2 separate regions of the Homo sapiens genome follow, and region 1 is linked to region 2. Evidence: promoter capture Hi-C in 16 types of primary human blood cells and fetal thymus (Javierre and others, 2016). All regions are on one chromosome and are shown on one strand. Each heading gives the region's core, a stretch centred on a gene start or on the middle of the fragment in contact. The rest is flanking DNA. Distances are from core to core; before and after follow the strand shown. Region 1 has its middle 9.7 kb from the start of IGF2BP3. Region 2 holds the start of SP8 (Sp8 transcription factor).

Evidence for each region. The method cuts DNA at HindIII sites, captures the fragments that hold promoters and counts their contacts. A CHiCAGO score of 5 or more calls a contact.
Region 1: a contact is called between a fragment that was not itself captured here and the fragment with the promoter of SP8 in region 2, in 1 of 17 cell types (naive B cells). The highest score is 5.5, in naive B cells.

Annotation. Positions count from the first base shown.
Region 1 is chr7:23,478,802-23,481,501 of GRCh38, reverse strand. It overlaps the pseudogene LOC389473. Among named protein-coding and RNA genes, the nearest start is that of IGF2BP3, 9.7 kb to the right of the region's middle. The HindIII fragment of the contact is 581 bases long and covers 1,059-1,639 here.
Region 2 is chr7:20,785,492-20,788,191 of GRCh38, reverse strand. It overlaps SP8 (Sp8 transcription factor), which reads left to right and starts at 1,306. Exons shown (of 2, transcript NM_182700.6): 1 at 1,306-1,414; 2 at 2,397-2,700. The coding sequence starts at 1,394. The HindIII fragment of the contact is 6,810 bases long and covers 1-2,589 here.

The DNA of each region.
Region 1 (2,700 bases), core at 100-2,599, 2.7 Mb before region 2:
TCATCAGTGTCTCAGGTCCTGTGGCAGCATCTCGGTCACTTACCACAAGGAAACGAGTTTCAAACTATGTCTATACATCAAGAGTACATGGATAAAATATAGAGATATACAGACAATTGATAAACATAAACTACTAGGTTTGTTACATCTAAATGAAGAAAAAGGGGGGGACTCTCAGCCTCTGCAAGAAGCGGTCGGGAGCTGTGTGAGTGAAAAGGCAGGAGTGCACTGGTTGTGTGAACGCGGTGGGAATTTGAGTTGTGGAAGACATTGTTGTAGCGAACCAGGCCTGAAGGCCCACCTGTAAGGGTTGTAAACGTGGATTCACAGTGTGAAATTCTGAGCATTTTCACTTGGGTCAGAATGATTAAAAACTGGTTTGATGATACCTATTTGTCCACTGTAAATTCTCTAAAGCAAGGCTCAGAGTCCCATAGTTTCCTCTTATACTTAATGATTTACACAGAAAAAAATCCCATATATGGTACCATGACCTCATGAATACCCATACACCGTATGTAATACAAATGGAGGTGTTACGATTAAAAAAAGTGGAGGTAACTGATTCTTGGGGAGCGGAGTTCACTGCTGCCCAGTAGAGTCAGGGAGGCAGCGTTTGTCTCATCGTTCTTCTTGTAGTTCACTTCCTTTGGGACAGGAAGTCTTCCCTTAGGAAGCCTTCCCTCCATGTCCTTGTTTGGAAATGGTTCTTGACTGACCCAGAGAAAGAGTTCTGGGTAATAAACCATTTTGAGAATCTTAGTCTTGGCTTCTATTCTCCCTCTCTTCAGTCCAGGGAGACCAACAGACAAAAGCCCCGCTCCCTGTTCACTCTCCTCTCTACACCTGAAACACAAATGTGGTTGAAAAAGGGCAACATGCTAGAAAAACAGCTTGGGGGGGAGGGCGAGACGGGGTTTCAACATGTTGGCCAGGCTGGTCTCGAACTCCTGACCTCAGGCGATCTGACTGCCTCGGCCTCCCACAGTGCTGGGATTACAGGCGTGAGCCACTGCGCCTGGCTGTCAGTTAGCTTTTAATAGGTTATATTCCAAGCTTTCATGGAAAAGTTAGAAAAGGACCATGTTTTAATCCACAGATATCTGATTTTTATAAAACAACTTTAACAGTCTTCAGTTTAACTTTCTTTTTTTCTTTTTTGGAGATGGAGTCTCGCTCTGTTGCCCAGGCTGGAGTGCAGTGGCACCAACATGGCTCACTGCAACTTCTGCTTCCCAGGTTCAAGCAATTCTCCTGCCTCAGCCTCCCAAGTAGCTGGGACTACAGGTGCGTGCCACCACACCCAGCTGATTTTTATATTTTTAGTAGAGACGGGGTTTCACCATATTGGCCAGGCTGGTCTCGATCTCCTGACCTTGTGATCCGCCTGCCTCAGCCTCCCAAAGTGCTTGGATTACAGGCATGAGTCACTGCGCCCGGCTCAGTTTAACTTTCAAGTTTTTGAATTTACTCAAAAGAAACATGGGAAAAAACCTTTAAAAACAAAATAATTGTATTTTATATTATATAGTTACATTAAACAAAACCACAAATAGATTTTTATCATAATTAGTAATAACTGCATATTAACAATACTTTCAAGTTTTTACTTTGTTACAGGTTTTAAAGACTATAAGCTTGATCACTGGATTTGGTTGTAAGAAGATACTCTAAATTTTAGCTTAATCCAGAGTTCCATAAATCTGATGTTTTTATTTTTTTTGCTTATATATCCTCTCTGTGCTTCACTGTAATATATTTATTTCTATTAATTGCCACATCCAGAGAGTAACTCAGCTTATTACTATGTTAGCAGAACATTGCCATAGGTAAAGAAAGAAGATAAATGCATCACTTATTTTAACAAAGATAAACTTTTTTTTGTTTTTGTTTTGGTTTGTTTAAAAAGCAATGGGCATTCTTCATCCATTTAGAGGCTCAAAGTGTTAAAATGTTTGGTTATCCTAATACAATATGACTTCCCCTCACTTTGCAATGAAATAATTTAAGGATATTTAATAAACAAGGAAATAATTATTTTAAAGAATAACAGGAAGGGGCTATCATTTGACTGAAATAATATTCTTCATTTATAGCAACTTAAAACTTTGTTGGTAGTCATTCCTGAAGCAACATTACAGTTTAATCTCAGCTCTCCTAACCCCCAATAAAGACAGTAAATAACAGGACCCACACTTCACTTAAATCTGAGTTTTCTCTCCTTATTTAAGTTTCAAAAACCATTGTTGTTTTCACGACAAGAACAGACCAGTATCTATCTTTAGCTCTTTTTTTATAGAGACATTTTTTCAAATAACACTGCTTATTTTGATTAATGTATCTATTATGGATAATGTACACAAATAGAAGTGGTAGAACAATCCAACAGAAAGGATTTGTGATAACTTCATATTTTCGAGATAAATTTAACTTCAAAATATGTGACCCGTATTATTTCTACCAATTTTTAAACTGCTTACGTTCATGTTTTAATAATGTTGATGGATGTTTTATATGTATAATACTAACTACATATATTTTAAATAGAAAACGAGTTATAGAAAGACATAAAATGGAAAACACATTTATATGATGTAAGTTCTAATGGTGATATACTAGTAGCATCGTAATTTCAGTTCAATCTATACTGTTTTGTTAGTCTTATCTCCCCAGCTTTAAAGACATCATACTGAAGTATTC
Region 2 (2,700 bases), core at 57-2,556:
CGCCTGGATAAATGTCCAAGATTTGTCAAAAGCTCCTCTCTATTCTTAGATAAATAGAACCCATATATTTCGATCAAAGTCCTGATTCTTTTCTCAGAAAGAGGCAGTGAGGTTTTCTGTGAAAATTTCTAAATTCCGTAAAACGCTCTTCAATTTCTTACCCAAAGAAAAAACGACCCTCGCTTACTCTCTTCTCTATCTAATCCTTTTGTATTGAAATTTACTCAACACCACGGGACACACACACCTCCTCCCCTAGAGTGAGACGTGCACTTCTAAAGCAGAATTCCACCTCAGGGAAAAAAAAAAAAAAAAAAAAAAAAAAAGCCACGGCATCAAAGAAACAACTCATGGGCGCGCAGGCGCGCATCCACGTCCCAACGCATCCCTAAAAATAACCCTTAGCCTCTCAACCTTTCTACTATTTCGTTGGAGAGCCGGGAAAGAAAAGGTGGGTTTAAAGATCTTCTTCAAAAATGTAGTGACGCTGTTTACCAAGTTAAGAAAAAAAAATCACTCAAGATTTTAGGTACAAGGAGCCAAAGGAAGTTGGCGACAGGGGCAGCGTTTGTGAATATTTATTCACTCAGCCTCCATCAACTTAGTCGGTTTCTCTCTTCAGCTCGACAGTCTCTCTCTTACAAACACACACTTTATTGCATTGTTCCCATTCCCCACTACCAGCTTTGGTGCGCGCACACAACACAAGCGCCCACACACACCCTTCCCTCTTCTCTGTCGCACAAATACACATGTTCACAGCCCTCCTTCTCCCCCAACACCAAACACACTCACCCCCCACCCAGTTGAGTCCCTCTTCCCTCCCTAGGTTTGTCAGTTACACTACCGTACACTCACACCCTTCCCAACACTTAACTGCTCTGTCCCTCTACCCCGCTTTGTCGCACACGCAGTTATCTTATCACACAACCCTCCCTTTTCTGCACTCTCTCCACTCCCCGCCTTTACCACACTGTCACTGTTACGGTGTCACACCCCCATCCCCCCTCCCTCCAGTCTCCGCACTGTCCTCTCCTACGCCTGGTCACACTCGCACACAGTTACATTGTTACACACACACTCATACACGCGAGCGCGCGCTTTGCGCTTTGTAACACACGCAGCCGCCCCCGCCCCCTCCGCTCCCACTCCCCCTTCCACCACGGCGGCAGGCGGCGGCGCCGATGACCTCACGGCGCGCGCGCCGCGCGGCCCGGCGAGGCCGCAGATTGGCTGGCCGCGCCTCCGCGGCACTTCAAAGCCGGAGAGGGAGCTACAATTGTGGTGGAATGGGCGGAACTGATCATTGTATTGCACACCTCTAAAAAAAACACTGCCTCTGATTTATCAATATAAAAAAGATCCTCTGAGAGGAGGAGGGCACTTTTGTGTGATGGCAACTTCACTTCTAGGGGTGAGTCTCAGGATTTTCTCTTGCTGGTTTAATTAGTTTCCTTTTATTGCCGATTGGAGGGGGTTAAAGTCGCCCCGGCCAGGCCACGGGCTATCAGTCTCTCTATTGAGAGCTTTTTTTTTTTTTCTTTAAATACAAGTGAGTTTGGAGAAAAGAAAAAGGGGGAGAAGGGGGCAGAGTCACTTTTTTTCAGCGCAGGAAAAGGTTCGAAGGGCATTTAGACAAGCCACCGCGCAGCGCCTCGCTGCTCCCTGCCCGGGAGACCTGCGTCCAGCCCATTTTACAGGCACCGATTTCGGGGGTAAAGAGAGCAAGTTTTTCCTTCTGGGCAAAGTGCAGATTCTTCCCCTAACCCTTAAAAAAAAATTCTGCAGCCCGCCTTGTCTCGCAGGTACGTTGAACTCGTCTCGTTTTTACTACTGTAGATATGCTTTTAAAAAAAGAAAGAAAGAAAAGCAGGAAGAAAGAGTGAGCCCTACAGTTTGATTTCTTTTGGCCTGGGAGAAACAACCCAGGATGGGTTTCTGGGGACCCGAACAGGTTTTTCAAAGCTCTCCGGATTACAGGGAAGCGCTCTTAAAAGCAATCCAATGGTTTTCCCCCAGGCTTCTCGGCAAAGAAAACTTCCTTCCTCTCCAATCTGGACTTTTTGCTTGTTTGTTACGAAGTGTCTGGGGCTTTGTGTGCAAGAGAGTGTTGTTTTAGGTGAGAATACTTGTCAAACTCTTCTTTAGCGTGGTGCTTGCTCCCGAATCAGACGCCGGCAGCCAAACTTGTCCCCTCCTGTAGAGTAGGAAGCGGCCGGGCGCCGGGGCTGTTGGGGGTGCCAGGTGAGTTGGTGGCGGCGCGCCGCAGCGAGAGATGGGGTGCAGTGGGGCGCTTTGGAGGCTACCGAAGGACTGATGCACATTTCTTCCTTTCCTCCCCCACCGGCCCTTTGCCCACCTCCCCTCCCCCACTCCTTCTCCTCTCCTCCTCGCAGGAAGAACCGAGGTTGGGATCGACTCCTCTGGCCATGCTTGCCGCTACCTGTAATAAGATAGGCAGCCCCAGCCCGTCTCCCTCCTCCCTCTCGGACAGCTCTTCTTCCTTCGGCAAAGGCTTCCACCCCTGGAAACGCTCCTCGTCCTCTTCTTCCGCCAGCTGCAACGTAGTGGGTTCCAGTCTCTCAAGCTTCGGCGTGTCCGGGGCCTCCAGGAACGGCGGCTCGTCCTCGGCGGCTGCGGCGGCCGCGGCAGCAGCCGCGGCTGCCGCGGCCCTGGTGTCCGACTCGTTCAGCTGCGGCG